Linked DNA regions of Homo sapiens: all the other regions are linked to region 1. The links are contacts of gene promoters, found by promoter capture Hi-C in blood cells and fetal thymus (Javierre and others, 2016). All regions are on one chromosome and are shown on one strand. Each heading gives the region's core, a stretch centred on a gene start or on the middle of the fragment in contact. The rest is flanking DNA. Distances are from core to core; before and after follow the strand shown. Region 1 holds the start of PRRT2 (proline rich transmembrane protein 2). Region 2 holds the start of CD2BP2 (CD2 cytoplasmic tail binding protein 2). Region 3 holds the start of NFATC2IP (nuclear factor of activated T cells 2 interacting protein).

The links. The method cuts DNA at HindIII sites, captures the fragments that hold promoters and counts their contacts. A CHiCAGO score of 5 or more calls a contact.
Region 2: the fragment with the promoter of CD2BP2 here is called in contact with the fragment with the promoter of PRRT2 in region 1 in 1 of 17 cell types (neutrophils); the score reaches 6.7 in neutrophils.
Region 3: the fragment with the promoter of NFATC2IP here is called in contact with the fragment with the promoter of PRRT2 in region 1 in 2 of 17 cell types (total B cells and fetal thymus); the score reaches 6.3 in total B cells.

Annotation. Positions count from the first base shown.
Region 1 is chr16:29,810,726-29,813,484 of GRCh38, forward strand. PRRT2 (proline rich transmembrane protein 2) reads left to right here and starts at 1,468. Exons shown (of 4, transcript NM_145239.3): 1 at 1,468-1,598; 2 at 2,265-2,759. The coding sequence starts at 2,330. It overlaps MAZ (MYC associated zinc finger protein), which reads left to right. Exons shown (of 5, transcript NM_002383.4): 5 at 1-439. All of the region lies in intron 2 of MVP-DT (MVP divergent transcript), which reads right to left. RefSeq lists silencers at 841-920, 1,321-1,470. The HindIII fragment of the contact is 10,276 bases long and covers 1-2,759 here.
Region 2 is chr16:30,353,931-30,356,634 of GRCh38, forward strand. It overlaps CD2BP2 (CD2 cytoplasmic tail binding protein 2), which reads right to left and starts at 1,378. Exons shown (of 7, transcript NM_006110.3): 1 at 1,282-1,378; 2 at 674-777; 3 at 254-392; 4 at 1-128. The coding sequence starts at 751. It overlaps CD2BP2-DT (CD2BP2 divergent transcript), which reads left to right and starts at 1,504. Exons shown (of 2, transcript NR_184233.1): 1 at 1,504-1,690; 2 at 2,363-2,704. RefSeq lists enhancers at 392-1,343, 428-1,627, 1,318-1,612, 1,344-2,295, 1,350-1,409 and 1 more. The HindIII fragment of the contact is 7,065 bases long and covers 1-2,704 here.
Region 3 is chr16:28,949,324-28,952,253 of GRCh38, forward strand. NFATC2IP (nuclear factor of activated T cells 2 interacting protein) reads left to right here and starts at 1,614. Exons shown (of 8, transcript NM_032815.4): 1 at 1,614-2,075; 2 at 2,809-2,881. The coding sequence starts at 1,689. RefSeq lists enhancers at 936-1,470, 1,490-1,990 and silencers at 1,710-1,809, 1,950-2,069. The HindIII fragment of the contact is 4,735 bases long and covers 1-2,930 here.

The sequences.
Region 1 (2,759 bases), core at 218-2,717:
GGGAAAGCGGTGAGGTTTGAGGAGGGGCAGAAGCAGGGCCGGCAAAGGTTGTACCTTCATAAGGTGGTATGGGGGGTTGGGGTCAGGCCCTGAACATCGTCCTACTTGAGAATCTGTCAGGGGAAAAAGTCAAGGGGAGCAGGAGGAAGAGCCAGGAGGGCCAGAGGCAGAGAAGAGATGGAGTCTTAGGGGCCAGGGTGAGCGAGGGGTCCAGGGCCTAGAGGTGCTTCCTGGGGGCGGGGGAATGCAGCCAGTGTCCCCCTCCCCTCTTCCACCCCAGCTCCAGCCCTGGTCTTGTCTTTTCATCCCTCTTCCCCACGACAGAAGAAGTTGTGGCCCTGGCCATGTCATCGTGTTCCTGTGTCCCCTGCATGTACCCCACCCTCCACCCCTTCCTTTTGCGCGGACCCCATTACAATAAATTTTAAATAAAATCCTGTTTCTGGCTCTGGATTGAATGAATTGCCCTCACTAAGAACTGCCGCCAACCCCAAGGGTTTCTTCTCGGCCTGGTGTCCGTCAATCCAGCCTTGCTCTGCCCTGTGAGGCTGTGAGGTTCTGGCTCCGCCCTCCCCAGGGGCAGCCTTACTGGCGGCAGCACAGATACAGGGCGGGGCCAAGGCTGTGGCTGTGGAGAGCAAGTTCCAGGTCTCTGGGGAATTCCCAACTCGGACAGGCCCAGAATAGCCCCTGGAGGTTTGAAGAGGCCCCGTCAGAAACCCAAACAGAGCTGCCAGACGGGAATGCCGCCCTCCCCCGTCCACACTCATGGCCGCTGCTCAGCCCCCAGCCGCATCCCTCCCCACGCGCGTCACGGCCCTGAGGCCATGGTGGGTGGATGCGGCTGCGGAAAGGCTGGGGAGTCCGAGCCCTAGGACTGGGAGCAGCGAGGTAGAGAATGAAAGCTGCACCTGTCCCTCATCCTGGGCATGGGCCACTCTGTGTTTACACGGGCTCCTCTGCCCAGCTCCTCCTGCCCCTTGGAATTCCCTTTCCTGTCCCCGCTCCGTCCTTTCCAGGGCCCCTTTTTTGAGCCTTCCAGCGCCAGTTTCTGCCGCTCCTTTCTGCAGGCTCCATTCTCTCCAAACCCCACCCTGCTCCTCCTCTGCAGCCTCCCCGCGTCTTGCCCCATCTTCCTTGCCCTCCTGCTCGTAGAGACGCCTCCACCCGGTCCTGCCTGTCTCACTGGTCCCGTCTCCTCGCAGAACCCTCTCCGTTTCCCCCAAATCCCCGTCTCTTCCAGGAATCCCGGTGACCGTTGGCGGGAGGGGCCGGGGACTTAAGAAGGAGGCGTCTCTCCTGGAGGCGCGCGTGAGAAGGGGCAGGGAGGGGGCGCGAGTGGTCCCCGGGCCGGTTGCCTGGGTAACGCGTGGCTCCCTTGGGCTGGCGGGAGGGGCCGGAGGCTCGCGAGGGGCGGGGGCGGCGACGGCGGCGGAGCGTAGGGGAGGGGACCGGAGAGGAGGGGATGAGCACACGGGAGAGGAGAAGAGGGAGACCCGCCGCCTCCCTCCCTCCCTAGCTGACTTGCTCCCTCCCGGGCTGCGGCTGCTGCAAAAGCCAGCAGCGGCAGCGGGAGCTGTCCGGAGGCCGGCGTCGAGGTGAGACCCGGGCAGACTGAGGCTGCGGGTAGGAGTGGACCGACCGACGGCTGACGCCGGGCGGACTGCACGGGAATGCGGGTGTCTGGAGGGCTGGTGGTGGTGCTGGGCGGGCTGAACCATCGGGAGGAGGCGCCAGCCCACCGAAGGCGAGGGAAGCCCCGGGAGAGGGGCTGACAGGGGATCGAAGGAGATAACCAGGTCCCCCAGAAAGGGGCGGGAGCGTCCTCGCCCTAAACGCGCAGCAAGAAAACCCGCACCGCCTGGGAGCCCAGGGAGGAGGGGAGGATGCAGAGGGAGTGGAATGCGAATGTCGGGTCCTCTGCCCAGTCGGCCTGTCGGAGTGCTATTTGCACAGCTCGTTGATTTTGGGGTGCTGGGATCTGAGAGTCTGGATCTTGTTGGATGGACCCAGGGAGAGACCCTGGAGAAGGTCCTGTTTACAAAAGGGTTAATCTTCCCCAGGGCTCTCCAAGCAGAAGACTTTGAGTAGAGCACTCCTCCCGCAGGGATGTCCCACCCTAAGGCAAAGGAAACCCCAACTTTTCTTCCTCTCCCTAGAGGCAGTGCAAGGCTGGCCCTGAGACAGGAATGTGGCCCAATTGGGCCTGCAGTGCTGAGCGCCCTCTTCCCTCCTCACCCCAAGCCTATCTCCTCCTCTTCCAGGGTTTGCCGCTGTCTCTGCTATTCCATCCTCCCCATAGGGGCTCTCTCCCCTCTCCCATCTCAAGATGGCAGCCAGCAGCTCTGAGATCTCTGAGATGAAGGGGGTTGAGGAGAGTCCCAAGGTTCCAGGCGAAGGGCCTGGCCATTCTGAAGCTGAAACTGGCCCTCCCCAGGTCCTAGCAGGGGTACCAGACCAGCCAGAGGCCCCGCAGCCAGGTCCAAACACCACTGCGGCCCCTGTGGACTCAGGGCCCAAGGCTGGGCTGGCTCCAGAAACCACAGAGACCCCGGCTGGGGCCTCAGAAACAGCCCAGGCCACAGACCTCAGCTTAAGCCCAGGAGGGGAATCAAAGGCCAACTGCAGCCCCGAAGACCCATGCCAAGAAACAGTGTCCAAACCAGAAGTGAGCAAAGAGGCCACTGCAGACCAGGGGTCCAGGCTGGAGTCTGCAGCCCCACCTGAACCAGCCCCAGAGCCTGCTCCCCAACCAGACC
Region 2 (2,704 bases), core at 128-2,627, 540 kb after region 1:
GATCTGAGCATCCCGGTTCAGGAAGTAGTTGCCATCGGCATCAAAGTGGCCTTCCTCCATCTCCTCCTGCAGGTTAAAGGGTGTGATCCGAACACCCCCCTCGCTGGGGAGTGTGGCTGCCTCCTGACCTGCACCAAAGACACAGGTGCCCTTTTCCAGGCATGGAAAAAAGAGACCGGAGCCTCCCTCGCTCCACACCACCAGAGGCCCCTACTTGTTTTTCCAGCAGAGTGTATTCTTGGGTACAGCTTACCTTCTACATCCTCTGAGGCCAAGATGTCATATTTGCTGGACCCCCCATCATCATCATCCTCCTCCTCATCGCTATCCAAAGAGTGTTTGCCTTTAAAGCGGCTCCCAGGACCCCCTGACCCAGCCACAGGGTCCACCAGCTGTGAGCAGGAGCCAGAAAGTTGAGAAATGCAGGTTACTGGCTACCTCCCCAAATACTTCCGGATCTGGACCCAAATATTCCCCAAATATTTCAGGATCTCGACTACTTCCCCAAATATTTCAGGAGCCACACTAAAGACGCTCCCAACCCATTCCTCAGAGAACCTGAAAAAACTAGGCTTTTCTCTGCCTGCCCGCCCCGCCCCTCTCCCGCCAGCTTTCTTCCTCTTCAGGCTTCTAGCTCCTCTTTCCCCCACACAAAGCAGTCTGGCCCCCTCACCTTCTTCTTGGGGACAATGATTTCATCCTCATCCTCCTCATCTCCCACGCCTTGGAAGGTCACTTTCCTCTTTGGCATGACGGGGCAAAGAGGTGTTTCTCAAGCTGAGGAAAGGATGCAGAGGAAGGGAACCGGGTGAGGAGGGGACTCGCCAACAGACGCAGCACAGCAAACATTTTTCCTGGTCTGTGACAGGTACAGTTTGGGAGCGGAGGGAGCACAAAAGCAGGGGCCGAAAGGAAGCTGGCAGCCAGGAGGCCTCCAGGACTTGGGTCTAGCATCCGCGAGTTAAACGGGGCGGGGACGGAGGAGCGGACCCTCTGGATCCCCCGACCCTGGCTGAAAGGAGACAGGCTTCACCACGTGACCGCCCCCAACTCCAGCCCCCGCAGTCTGCGCGCCACCGGCTCCACGGGCTGACCCCCGCTCTCTACCCTGGCTCTCTCGGAGCTCGCCGGGCCCCGGCAGACCCAGGACCTGGCGCTCTCGCCACCCCGTTCCTCCCTGCTCCGAACTCCCAATTCCGTGTGGTGAGCCCCAACTGTCCCGGGCTGTGTACAACTTAGAGGGCCACGGGGATTCGGGCGGTCCCACCCTCGCGCACTCACCTGGGAATCCGCGGAAGGCGAGGTGGAAAAAAGAAGAGATGCTTGCGCCAGGGCTACATCCGGGGCACCCGGCCGCCATCACCCGGAAGAGGACTGCGGAAGGCGCCCGGGAAGCCCGGAAGTGGCTTCACTCGGGTTAGGGAACTAACTGGAAGAGCGGGCGGAAGTATGCGATAAGCGAGCGAAGACGCCTCCACCCTCTCTCCCGCCAGAAGTGACGTCAGTCACGTGGGAGGACAATGGTGAGAAGAGGGAACCTAAGAATTCCTGGACTCTGACTGGGCGTGAGAAATGGCCGGAAGTAGCTTCGAGTCCGTCATTCAAGCAGTAGAGGCTCTGGAGAAAAACTGGAGCGCATCTGCTTAAAGGGCCGCCCAGGGTCAGGATGGAGGGGCAAAGTCCGAGCAGGGTCAGTGGGTTGCTGCTCCGTTTTCCTGTCCTGGGTTCAAGTCACCCTTCCCCCAGGGCTAAGGGCTCAGCGCCCCTACCGTCTCGTTAGAAATCCTGCCTTCCCATTCCTATGGTCCAGTGGTCAGCCCTCCTAGCCTGAGAGGTGCAGCCTTGCCTCTCCGAGGGGAAGCCTGACTCTCCCGATGGCCAGCCTGGGGCCCCTGGACGGCTCTCCGGGCACTTTCTGAACACACCTCCCTTTAGGACCCAGGGGAAATAATTTGTCCCACGCCCATACCCTGGGCGAGTTCCTGGTTTCTGAGGTGGGAGAGCCATCACTGGAGAGGTGGCATTGGCGCCAGTACTCAGGCCAGAAGCCCCTTGTGCCCTGCTCTCAGGTAGGCCTGGAAAAGGGCAACAGTGCCTCTCTGCAGCATGAAGCCCCCCTGAGCAAACAGGGCCTAGCAACTCCTGCCCAGGTAGCGGAATGTGGCCCAAGCAGAAGGGGGAATTGGGGAGGTAGCGGGGATCAGCCCCTGTGCTGGGACCCCTAGCTCTTGACACTCGGAGCCTGCATCCCCCTAAGCCAAGACTGTGCGCAGGCAGCACGTGCTGAAGCCAGACGAGGACAGCATGAGAGTTCCCCTACTCTTCCCCCAGGCAACTAGATGGGCCACTTCTCTCTCCCTAGGGGTTTCCTCCCATATTGGATCACGATGAAAACTGCACAGAAAGTCCGTGCTCAGTTTCTTCCATGGTTACAGAACACAGGCCCCAGACCAGGAAGGCATTCTGCTAAAGAAGGGGACCCGAAACCTCAGCTACCAGCGCCGATGGTTCATCCTCCGAGGAAACCTCCTCTTCTACCTAGAACACTAGACCGACCATGCACCCCTGAGCCTCATCCTGTTAGAGAACTGCCAGGTGGAACCACACCTTAAGGCTGCAGAACCCTATGCCTTTACCATCCTGACCCCTGGGGTGGAGGGCACAGGTGGGCGGGCCTACAAGCTGGCTGCAGAAACCCAGGAAG
Region 3 (2,930 bases), core at 364-2,863, 860 kb before region 1:
AATAAATAGTCGGGCGCAGTGGCTCACGCCTGTAATCCCAGCACTTTGGGAGGCCAAGGCGGGGGCGGAGGGGGGTGGATCACCTGAGGTCAGGAGTTCAAGACCAGCCTGACCAACATGGTGAGACCCCATCTCCACTAAAAATACAAAATTAGCTGGGCATGGTAGTGCACGCCTGTAATCAATCCCAGCTACTTGGAGACTGAGGCACGAGAATTGCTTGAATCTGGGAGGCAGAGGTTGCAGTGAACCGAGATCGAGCCATTGCACTCCAGCCTGGGCAATAAGAGCGAAACTCCATCTCAAAATAAATAAATAAATAAAATTAAATAAATGAATAAAATAAAATTTAAAAATAAATAAATACATAAGATTTTTTTTTGAGATGGAGTCTCACTCTGTTGCCCAGGCTGGAGTGCAGTGGTACAATCTTGGCTCAGTGCAACCTCTGCCTCCTGGGTTCCAGCGATTCTCCTGCCTCAGCCTCCCGAGTAGCTGAGATTATAGGCGCCTGCCACTACGCCTGTCTAATTTTTGTATTTTAGTAGAGACAGGGTTTTACCATGTTGGTCAGGCTGGTCTCGAACTCCTGACCTCAGGTGATCTGCCCACCTCGGCCTCCCAAAGTGCTGGATTATAGGCGTGAGCCACCACGCCCAGCCTTATTATTTCTATCTTTCTTTCTTTTTTTGAGAGAGAGTCTCGCTCTGTCGGCCAGGCTGGAGTGCAGCGGCAGGATCTGGCTCACTGTAACCTCTGCCTCCCGGGCTCAAGCAATTCTCCTGCCTCAGCCTCCTGAGTAGCTGGGATTACAGGCGCACGCCACCACGCCCGCCTAATTTTTGTATTTTTAGTAGAGACGGGGTTTCACCGTGTTGGCCAGGCTGGTCTTGAACTTCTGACCTCGTGATTCGCCTGCCTCGGCCTCCCAAAGTGCTGGGATTACAGGCGTGAGCCACCGCGCGCGGCCAGCCTTATTATTTCTTTAAAGCATTTTTGAGACAGGGTCTCGCCCTGTCACCCAGGCTGGGGTGCAGTGGTGCGATCTCCGCCTCCCGGGCTCCAGCGAAACTCCCACCTCAGCCTCCTGAGTAGTTGGGACCACAGAGGGGTGCCACCACGCCCGGGTAATTTTTGCATTCTTAGTAGAGACGCGGTTTCGCCACATTGGCCAGGCTGGTCTCAAACTCCTGAGCTCAACCAATCTGCCCGCCTCAGCCTTTCAAAGTGCCAGGATTACGGGCGTGAGGCACCGCGCCTGGTTAAATCCGCGGTTTCCACAGGGAATTCCAGGCCCGCCTTCCTTCTCCCGGAAACCTTACCGCTCGAGGACTACATTTCCCAGGATGCCCTGCGACTAACCAAGCCGGAAGACGGTTGTCTTGGTTGGGCGGGTCCGGGAGAGGCTCGTCTGTGGAGAGGTGGCCCAGCCAATGGGTGAGGCCGACTGAATCGAAAGCTACGGTGATTGTGCCGAGGTGATTGGAATCTTTGGCGCCTTGGTTTCAGAGGTGGGCGCATGATGAGCGGGTACAGAGACCAATGAAAAGGCGGGAAGGCGGATCCCGCGCGTGGGGCGCGAAGAGTTGCTGACGAGCAGGCTGTTTGTCCAATGCAAGGCGAAAGTCGCTGAAGGGGGCGGGGCGAGGCGAGAGGAGGCGGGCGTGTGTTGTGGAGGAAAGTGTGCCATGGCGGAGCCTGTGGGGAAGCGGGGCCGCTGGTCCGGAGGTAGCGGTGCCGGCCGAGGGGGTCGGGGCGGCTGGGGCGGTCGGGGCCGGCGTCCTCGGGCCCAGCGGTCTCCATCCCGGGGCACGCTGGACGTAGTGTCTGTGGACTTGGTCACCGACAGCGATGAGGAAATTCTGGAGGTCGCCACCGCTCGCGGTGCCGCGGACGAGGTTGAGGTGGAGCCCCCGGAGCCCCCGGGGCCGGTCGCGTCCCGGGATAACAGCAACAGTGACAGCGAAGGGGAGGACAGGCGGCCCGCAGGACCCCCGCGGGAGCCGGTCAGGCGGCGGCGGCGGCTGGTGCTGGATCCGGGGGAGGCGCCGCTGGTTCCGGTGTACTCGGGGAAGGTGCGCCCGGTCCCGGGGAGGGGACCGGCGGAAGGGCCAAGGGCTTGGCCTCCAGGGAGGGGCCGGCGTTCGGGGAGGGTAGGGCTATAGGGGTGTTGAGGCTGGCGTTCTGGGGCTGGTCCTCGGGCGTTAGGGTGTTGGAGGCAGGGAGAGGCAGGGCTCCGGGACTTTCTGCAGACTGGGGTGGTGAAGGAGGGTGGGATGCGTTGGAAGTTTAGGATTCCTAGGAGCTAGAGTCTTGGGGGCACAGGGAGGCTGAAGAGCTGGGATTCCTGAGATTTTGGAGAGGGACTGGGAGGACCTGGGGCCGTTGGATTTTGAGGTTGGGGTCCATGGCAAATGAAGCCAGGGAGCTGCAGTATTGGGGGTTGGGGTCCATGCGGGTTCAGAGAGGACTGGGCGGCTCCAGAGGCTGGGGTCCCCCGATGGTCGTGTGAGCAATGGGCTGAGAGTCCCTAAGAGTCAGGGGTAGAGGGGCGGCTAGTAACCTAGTTAAAAAGGGCAAGGAAGCATACATTTCAGAGTGTCTTAGGCAGATGGAGGAAAGGGTGAAGGGTACTTCCATTCTGAATCCTGGGGAAGCTGGACTTCTAGGTTGCCAGGAGAGGGCCAAGGTGTCCACGATCTTAGGGAGGATTTGGGAGCTGGGTGTCAGGGAAGAATTACCCCCAATTTTTTCTTTCGGTAGGGGAAGGACTTGGGCCTGACCCCTCTCCCTTCTTTGTCTTTGCAGGTTAAAAGCAGCCTTCGCCTTATCCCAGATGATCTATCCCTCCTGAAACTCTACCCTCCAGGGGATGAGGAAGGTAAGGGAGGGCCTCCAGGGAGAGGCACGCAGCCGCTGGCTTCTCTTAA